Regions from separate parts of the Homo sapiens genome. Here region 1 is linked to region 2. The links are contacts of gene promoters, found by promoter capture Hi-C in human tissues and cell types (Jung and others, 2019). All regions are on one chromosome and are shown on one strand. Each heading gives the region's core, a stretch centred on a gene start or on the middle of the fragment in contact. The rest is flanking DNA. Distances are from core to core; before and after follow the strand shown.

Evidence for each region. Contacts are between HindIII fragments. The study calls those that stand out against the background at their distance.
Region 1: a contact is called between a fragment that was not itself captured here and the fragment with the promoter of AKT3 in region 2, in 1 of the 25 tissues and cell types used here (hippocampus).

What each region holds. Positions count from the first base shown.
Region 1 is chr1:244,430,215-244,434,950 of GRCh38, reverse strand. It overlaps ADSS2 (adenylosuccinate synthase 2), which reads left to right. Exons shown (of 13, transcript NM_001126.5): 4 at 2,356-2,406. Among named protein-coding and RNA genes, the nearest start is that of ADSS2, 19 kb to the left of the region's middle. The HindIII fragment of the contact is 5,061 bases long and covers 1-4,736 here.
Region 2 is chr1:243,848,274-243,852,919 of GRCh38, reverse strand. AKT3 (AKT serine/threonine kinase 3) reads left to right here and starts at 2,677. Exons shown (of 14, transcript NM_005465.7): 1 at 2,677-2,880. RefSeq lists an enhancer at 3,268-3,768. The HindIII fragment of the contact is 14,855 bases long and covers 1-4,646 here.

The sequences.
Region 1 (4,736 bases), core at 1,261-3,760, 580 kb before region 2:
GTGATCCACCTGCCTCGGCCTCCCAAGGTGCTGGGATTACAGATGTGAGCCACCGCGCCCCGCCCTGTTCAGGTTTAAAAGTAGCAATCTGTCTTCAGGTGTTCTTAACCACTACAGAACCCTGTCTTTGCTACCATCTCTTTTCTCCTTTCTGCGTTTTTACCTGTGACCTAGTCTGTGATTTTTATATTGATGCTGCTCTCTGCTCTCATCTCCTTTAATAAGTTTGTCCTACTCCCTTTTTCCTTCTAGCCTATCCAACCCTGCTCTTTATCTACTTTACTGAATTTCTTGGTCCTATTTTCTTTATTATATCTCCTAAACTAACTTCAGAATACATGTTTGTATGTCAAAACAACCGTAGAAGGGGAGGCTTAATATTCCAGGTTTACCTTTTAGCACATTACCGAGGAGGTTCTCTTCCTTAATCTATAAGGAATATATTTTAAAAATAAATCTTCAGGGAAAAACAAATTTTTCATTGTTAAAGATTAGTTTTGAAATGTTTGCAGCTTAGCAATTTGTCTTTAGTATTGTCTTTAAAGAAAAACATCGATTTGGGTTCATTTGTTCATTCAAGCGTCTTTTTTTTTTTTTGGAGACATGGTCTTGCTCTGTCGTCTATGCTGGAGTGCAGTGGTGTGAACACAGTAGTGAGCCTCTACCTTCTGGGCTCAAGCAGTCCTCCTGCTTCGGCCTCCCGAGTAGCTGGGACTGTAGGCACATGCCACCATGCCTGACTAGGTTTTTTAATTTTTTTTTTTTTTTTTTGTAGAGATGGGGTCTTTCTGTGTCACCCAGGCTGGTCTCAAACTCCAGGCCTCAAGCAATCCTCCTGCCTTGGTCACCCAAAGTGCTAGGATTATAGGCCACTGCTCTCAGCCAAAAGTAATTTTTAAAACCACTTACTGGATAACAGGCCCTGTGCTATGAAAGCTCACAGCCCCTCCTCTAGGTCTTCCACAGTTAAATGGGGGGACAGATATACCTCACAATTCACTGTAGTAAGTACAGTAATTGACAGTAGTACTTTAGAAGAATTAATGAAAAAGTTTATTTTCTTTACCTTTTTTTTTTTTTTTTTTTTTTTTAAAGATGGAGTCTTGCTCTGTTGCCAGGCTGGAGTGCAGTGGCACAATCTTGGCTCACTGCAGTCTCCGCCTCCCGGGTTCAAGTGATTCTCCTGCCTCAGCCTCCCGAGTAGCTGGGATTACAGGCGCCCGCCATCACGTACCCAGCTAATTTTTGTATTTTTAGTAAAGACGGGGTTTCACCATGTTGGTCAGGATGGTCTCGATCTCCTGACCTCAGGTGATCCGCCCGCCTTGGCCTCCCAAAGTGCTGGGATTACAGGCGTAAGCCACCGCACCCAGCCCATATTTGTTATAACTATCTTTTGGGAAAGGATGCCATTCCTAAAATTAACTCCCTTCTGGCAAATTTCTCCCTGCCAGGTACCTAACCTCCCCAGCATGATGTTTTTCTACCATTTGCCTTTTGGATTCCTAGAAGTATTTTATTTGGATGTGACTGGTTTGAATTTGGAGCTTTTAGAGCAAGACATTTGGAAAGATAGCATGTGAGTGAATTTATGTATGGAATGAATGACATGTGAGAAAACTCTTGTTAGACATGATGTTTCCTATACAGAAGAAAAGATACAAACTTGATTGCTTCAGTAAAAACACTTTTAGAGATTGTGTTTCCTTTTTTGTGAGACAGCATCTCGCTCCGCCACATACACTGGAGTGTAGTGGCACAATCTTGGCTTACTGCAACCTCTGCCTCCTGGGTTCAAGTGATTCTCGTGCCACAGCTACCCGAGTAGCTGGGATTAGATGCACCCACCACCACACCCAGCTAATTTCGTATTTTTAGTAGAGACGGGGTTTTACCATGTTGACCAGGCTGGTCTCGAACCCCTGGCCTCAAGTGATCCACCTGCCTTGGCCTCCCACAGTGTTGGGATTACAGGTGTTAGCCACCACGCCTGGCCTAGACATATTTCTAAAGAAATTAAGATCTTAGGCTGAGGTGGGTGGATCACAAGGTCAGGAGATCGAGACCATCCTGGCTAACACGGTGAAACCCAGTCTCTACTAAAATTACAAAAAAAAAATTAGCCAGGTGTGGTGGCGGGTGCCTGTAGTCCCAACTACTTGGGAGGCTGAGGCAGGAGAATGGCAGTGAACCCGGGAGGTGGAGCTTGCAGTGAGCCGAGATCACACCACTGCACTCCAGCCTGGGTGACAGAGCGAGACTCTGTCTCAAAAAAAAAAAAAAAAAAAAAGAAATTAAGATTTTAAAACTGCTATACAAAATATTCAATTAAATATATCTTTTTCCCCTTTCTAGGACTAGAAGGCTGGGAAAAAAGGCTTATTATATCTGACAGAGCTCATATTGGTAAGGTGGATATATTGCATTTATTTGTAACTATCTTTTTATCTGAAATTTATCAAATGAAAGTATTTAGTAACTAATTTTGTCTTTTATTTTTATTTAGCGTAAGTAGGATGGATTGTAGTAATTGAGTTCTAAATACAAAAAATACTTACTAATTTTTTTCTTTTTTAACAGTCTAGGCTGAAATTTACCTGTTTGAAAAAAAGGTTAGCTAAGCAAATTTATAATACAAGCAGTATTTCATAAGACATCTCTAATTCTATTTAAAAATAAGCCATATCAAAATGCAAAGAACATTTATTTGTATACGTAATATTCTTGTAAAAGTAAGTGTACCGTTTTGCAGATAGAGTGACTCTTTGTGCCTAAAATGTAGTAGTTATTGCTTTTTAAGTGATTCAGATTTTATTCAGACTAACCTAAATTTCAACCACTACCAATAAATTTGGGATTTTCTTCTCTGTTATTTTTCTCTTTCAGAACCAATGGAGTTGTTAATTAGCAGTGACATGATTTAAGAGACAATAACCAGAAAAGAAATAAGTAAAAACCACGTAGGAAACTTCTCTGTGATTGATCTGCACTCTTAAATTGTATTTAAGTATGCGTGTGTCCTGTGGCAGTAGCTGCTCTAGTTTTAACACTGGCCTCTATTTAAAAGGCAGCCTCATCAAGATACTTACAGTATTTCTCAGCCAAGCACAGAAATCAAATAACGGTCCCTCCAGATAACAGCCACAGACTTGAATCCTATGTATAATCTTAGTAACCCAATAAAATAACTTATTTGAAGTAAACTCTATTGGATTAACATACAGTTTCTATATGAAACTGGCCTCTTCATTACATTGTTTGCCACAGGCTTCTTAATCTGTAAAGTCTGAAAAGAACAATTTTTTGTTTTTACTGAAAAACAGTTTTATGTTAATATTTGTTGTCCTGTATGTTGTCTATTAGTAGACTGGTTATCCTTGAAAACAAAGACTTTGATAGCTGTTTGTTAGTGTAAGTGGATAAAATGTGGAATACTTCTGTATTTAACATAAAGTAAGCTTGTGAGTAGTTTATATTTCACCTGATTATACTTAAACTATGAAAATATTATCAGTAAAACTTTTATTTAAAAGACACCTTATTTCCAGAATTATTAATGGCATAGATGCATAACCAAGACAAAAAACAAAGGAAACAAAGAAGCTTTGCAGTCCCAAATGATAACATGCAATTTGGATAAGGACAAAAGGGTTTTGTTTTGGTTTTCAGAAGAAGGAGGTTGTCATTTTTGTTGCCTATTTTAAGCTTCTGATTTTAAAAATATTTATATTTTGTTTGTTAGCTTATCTTAGAACTTGAATTTTAAACTTATATATCACTATTGTGCTATAATATAGGAAGCAATAGAGTATTACTAATATTCTTTTTTTTTTAGACAGAGTCTCACTTTGTCACCCAGGCTGGAGTGCAGTGGGGTGATCTCAGCTCACTGCAACCTCTGCCTCCCGGGTTCAAGTGATTCTTCTGCCTCAGCCTCCTGAGTATCTGGGATTACAGGTGTGCTACCATGCCCAGCTAATTTTTGTATTTTTAGTGGAGACAGGGTTTCACTTGTTGGTCAGGCTGGTCTTGAACTCCTGACCTTAGGTGACCTGCCTACCTTGGCCGCCCAAAGTGCTGGGATTACAGGCGTGAGCCACTGCATCCGGCCCAACTAATATTCTTTCTTACTGGCAGTCTCCTAGTTATATAAGGAAAAATATGTTTTTGTGAAGTACTTTTGTAGCATTTTTGTTTGCTTACACTTACTACTCATTAGCTTTATTTATTCTGTTACCAATAGTCATCTTTATCTTCTTTTACCTTCATGATTTTATGTGTAGCTTTTTGGTATCCATTGTTCCTGTTGTGGATAAAGCAAGGCGCTGCATTAGATAATGAAAACCACTGCTTATCTTCAGAACTTTCCAATGGCTTTTTGTTATGTTGTCTGCTCTGTGAAATTCAGTATCTTAATCAGCATACCGCAATTTAGGATTGCAAAACAGAATAATCCCTAACACCTGCCGTTTGAATAACGTATAGCATCAGTGTATATAATCAGATAATTGGGCTATGTGCAGATATAAATATACGCTGATGATATCAGCCTGTTGGAAAGAGGTTAGTGTTAAGAGACATATCCCTGTTCCTGTCTGGATTCTCCATCTTCCTTCTTCATTGCAATTGCTTTGGGTCTGTCACTTAACAGTTCCATCCTTGGTACAACATAGAGGTTAAGCAAGTTACTTAATTACTTTAGACCACCAAAACAAAACAACAAAGTAGTAATGGGA
Region 2 (4,646 bases), core at 1,428-3,927:
ACCAAGAAATAGCTCAGTATCAAACTTAGTCATTGGTAGTAAAGAAGAATGAACATTTTTCTTAAAATGAATAAATAACTAATACTGAGAAATGTTAATCTTAAGAATATTTGGTGTAATAAAGAATGAAGGCTTTCTTTGCAAAATTTAGGAGGGACATTCCCAGGGATGAACATGCTGGCTGCACTCCATATTACTGGATGTGATAACAAAATAGAGAAGAAATCTGCCACACACTCTGTATGGAGTACCGACATACCACAATCGGCAGATTCTACCAAATTCATACCGGCATAGTCTAAGAGAAAGAACAACGTTATTTAAATAAATAATATCCCTAATCAATAGTAATTCAATAACAAAATCAAACATGCTTTTATTATGGAAACTTATGAAACTACTATAGTCCACAAGCAAAAATTGAACAGAAATAAAAACTTATAATTCTTCAAATACATGAAGCCGAGAGTATATAATCCATTCTCACATACTGAATTTTAGGGTTTAATCCACCTAAGATTTAATGCAATCTGACCAGACTGGGAGAAATATTTTGAGGTAGTATGGCTCATAAGACACATTCAGTTCTTGTAAATATATTGATGTTAAATTTGGGAACAAATGAACATCTCACTGATAAGAGATATCTAGTAATTCAGTAATTCCGGATACTCTGACTCTCAAAAGTTAAGTATTTAAAGTTTCAGACACTCTTTTTAGTGCTGGTGTCATAAGGGACTATTTTCTTAAAAATAAAAAGCAAGTTGGGGTACTATGGAATAAAAATATGACCTATTTTTGTGTTTTACAGCAAGAAACCTGTAACCCAATAATTTTACCAATAGTGACTGTGAGAGGTCTGATAATTATGGGAATACATTATGTATATTTTATAGATACAACGAAAATAGGACAAAGTCTGTTTATTCATCAGCTCATAGCATGCTGGGAAATATGGGAAAAGGGGAAAGGCATGGTGCAGGACTTTCTCTCAGACGGACTGTGTTATCTTAAAATGGCAAATTTTGCTCCAGGGTGGTCAGGGAGACAAGTTTCCCTTACAAACGGAGAAAACTGACTTTTTTAAAAAACCCTTTTATTTGGTTTCCTACTCCTGTCCACAATCCCAACAGATGCACAGTTCATAAAAGATGTGAACCTGGAAGTATAAATATTAATACCACACAGTACATAAATACCAGGGGGCTACAGTATAAGAAAATGACTACCATAAGAGAGTTGTCAAGACATAGAAAAGCAGAGAATGAAGTGCATGTCAGGAGGAGGAACTCTTCTGCAGAAAGAAGCCACAGACATTAACAAAAATGTTGCAGTGGGAGAAAGTAACAGGTACATCAACAAGGCTAGAGCCACGTGGCGGGATAATAGGGATGCTGCCCAGGTGTTTCCAGAAGCGATAAAACTTGTAAACTTTTATAATTTTCTGAAGTGCGCTGCATGGTAAAATATGGTCATTGTGCAAAAAAGTTGTCCCCAATGCAGTCTCAGGAGTCACTGACTTCAAAATAAAGAAACGGTCTCTTCGTAGTAAATGTAGTACCTCGTGGCTTTCCCAAAGTCATTGAAAACGAATATCCCTAAAAAGGGTGTGATTTCAAGAGTGAATTACGATCCGCCCGCAATCTGTGTACCGTGTGTGGACGAATGCTTGCAGCGAGCGGTGCGGAAGGCTGTTCAGAGAGGTGTTTTTGGTCTGCCGTGGTCTCCTGGGATAGTCAGGAATGATTCTTGCTACGGGCTGACCCGGGTTCCCTCTTCCCCGAGGTGCAGGGGGTGGGGTCGGCTTCTGGACTGCTCCGCGCTCTCCGGTCCCTACCTCATTGGGCACCGCCCACTTCGTGGGCTTCCAGGTGCGAGCCCTCGCGCCGGGCCCATCTCCCCAAGGGGCCGCGGCGGACTGGAGGAGACGCCCGGGGCCTGGCGGCGCGCGCGTCCGCGGCCAGGGCGGGTGGGCGGATGCGCCGAGGAAGCGGCTGGGCGAGGAGCCTCCGCTCCCGGGCCTCGGGTGCCCGCCAAGGGCCACGCGGGCGAGGGGGAAACCCAGAACTTCCCGCCCGGGAGCGACTGCCCCCGCTCCCGGCTCTGGCTGGCTAGGGGGATGTTCTCGCGAGAGGAGAGGGGGCGCGGGGCACCGCTGGTTTGGGGGCGCGGGGAAGCCTGAGGACGAGGGCCGGGCAGGGAGGGGAGCAGAGGCGGCGGGCAGGGCCGGGGACGCGGGGAAGCCGCTCCCGCCAGTCGCCGAGAGCCAGCCCCTGACGTCAGGAGTTTTCCTCAAAGTCAACAACAAGCCCCGCGGCGACGGCGAGAACCGATCGGCGGCGGCCCCGAGCGGGAGGAAGGAGGGGGCGGGGAGGCGGCGGGGGGTCCCCTCAGCGAGGCGCAGCCCGGGAGGAGGCCGCAGAACCCCTCCCCGCGCCGGGCGCGCCCCGGGGCCCAGAGCCGCCGCCCCGCCGGCGTGACCCGGCCCCCGCCCGAGCGGTGTTTTCTGGTGATGAATTTGTAGCCGATATCCGATTCCCATGTAGAGTCTCCGCCTCCTCCTCTCCCCGCCGCCGCCCTCTCTCCTCCCTCCCCCTCCCGCCGCCGCCGCCGCCGCCGCCGCCTCCCGCTCCAGCTCCGCGGCCCGGCCCGGCCGGCTCCCTCCCTCCCTCCCCTGCAGCCCTTCGCTTGCCCTCCCGCCGGCCGCACCGGGCTCCAGGAGGCCAGAGGCTCTGTGGGGTGGGGGGAGGACAGGAGGGGAGGAGGAGGGAGGGGGGACCCCCGAGTCGCCCCCTCTCCTCCCCCCGCCCCCCCCCGGCTCCATCCTCCGCCGCCGCCCGAGCAGCTGCGGGGCCGCCACCGCCGCCGCCGCCGTTGCAGGTAACAGCCACCGCCCCCAACTCTAGCCCCCTCCCCGCCTGGCCTCCACTCCCTCCGGGCCCCGGGCCCCGGTCCGCCCTCCCTGCCTCCCTCAGGCGGGGGATGGCGGCGGGGTGGGGTGAGGCGGGGGCTTCTGGGTTGTCACCGCGCCGGGGGCGTGGGCGGGGGCTGGGTCACCGGAGGCTTCGGGTGTGGGTGTGGAGGCCGGGGGATGCCCAGCGCGGTTGACACCGACACCCCCCGCTTTCCGGGGAAAGCTGGGGGGCGGCGGTGCGCAGCGGGCCGGGGGAGGGGTGTTCCCGGCCTAGCGGTACCGTCTGTGTCTGGGCTGCCCCGGCCCGGCGCCTGCTGTCTGCGCAACTCTCGCTCCTTCCCCTCGCCCCTCCCCGCCCGGGCCGCGCGGCGTGGGGAGGGGGCGCCCGCCTGGACCGGGGGCGGCGGCGAGGTTATATAACGCGTGGAGCGCCGGTGTCAGTGTGTTTGGGTTGGGGGGAGGGAGCCGTCTGCCGCGCGCCCTGGCGCTGAGGCTGTCTGCGCGTGGGGTGGGGTGAAGGCGAGGATGCACAGGCGTCCCCGGGGTCTCCTTCCTTCCCCCACCCTTCCCCGCCACTGGCGCGCAGGAAAAGACGGCACTGGTGGGGTGGGGGGGGGGGTGTGTGTGTGGGAGGTGGGTAACGTGCTTGTCTGTGTTTTTAATAGTAGTGGGGTTTTGATCCGCTTGGGAGTTGTGTGCTAAGAATAGAAATGTGCGGAAGATGCTGGGTTTGGCTGATCCAGTGATGCTGTCGCTGCTGGCGGCGGCGGCAGCTCTGGCTGCAAGTAAACAGACCAGCCTCTTCCTTGTCCACCTCCTCCGGCGCATCGGTCCGCATCAGCCATGATGCCGGTGGGGCCCTTCAGAGCCCAAAGTTGAAGCCTAGCTGGTTGCTGTGTTGACCCTGACGCCGAGGCGGGGTCACCATCCCTTGTTTGGGATTTCCCGGGAATCTACAGTTAGCCTAGAGATAAAGAATCTCGTTGGGGCCAGGTTTTTCCAATACCGGTATTTACTGTTTATGTTCTGAAAGCAGAGGAAATGCTTACCCACAAGTCAAAGCTGGGATGCTCACATTTCTTCCATCAAAATAATGTTGTTATGAAAATAAAACCAACTCATTTCACCAATGTGGCATTTTGGTTGAAAGCCTGGTAGTTTGCAATTGATGAAGTTTCCAAATAGAAAGTCAACAGTGAAACCTATGCATCTATATTGGGTAATTTCTAGCCATAATAAAGTGTTCACACTTTGATTTTAGTTGAGGCTAAAGTAAAAAATAATGGCTTTTTGTAGTTAATACATTGGCAGTTGTCTCAACAGTTTAGACATGTGTTCCGTATTTGGTAAAGCATGGTCATATATGTCTTTTAGTAGAACTATACATCACTAGGCAACCACTGGGTTTTGTCAGTGGTTGAAGCTGACAAATGAGTGAAACTCATTGGTTTAGGTTATGTATTTACTTAGGAAAACGAAGGTGGAAGAGTCTAATAAAGATGGTGTAGGAAATGAAGATTAGTCTTCAGAACTTGAGTATCACTTGCAAAATATGTATAAACGAATACAAACATTCCGGGGGTGGTTGTCTAAAACATGAAAATATTTTATAATTAAAATAGCAACTTATTACTAAGTTACTAGTTTTCCAAGGTTTATGACTTAATGCACAATTATATGCAAGATATATATCCGGACTGTAATTGTTTTCCTTTTGCCAGTACATTATCTT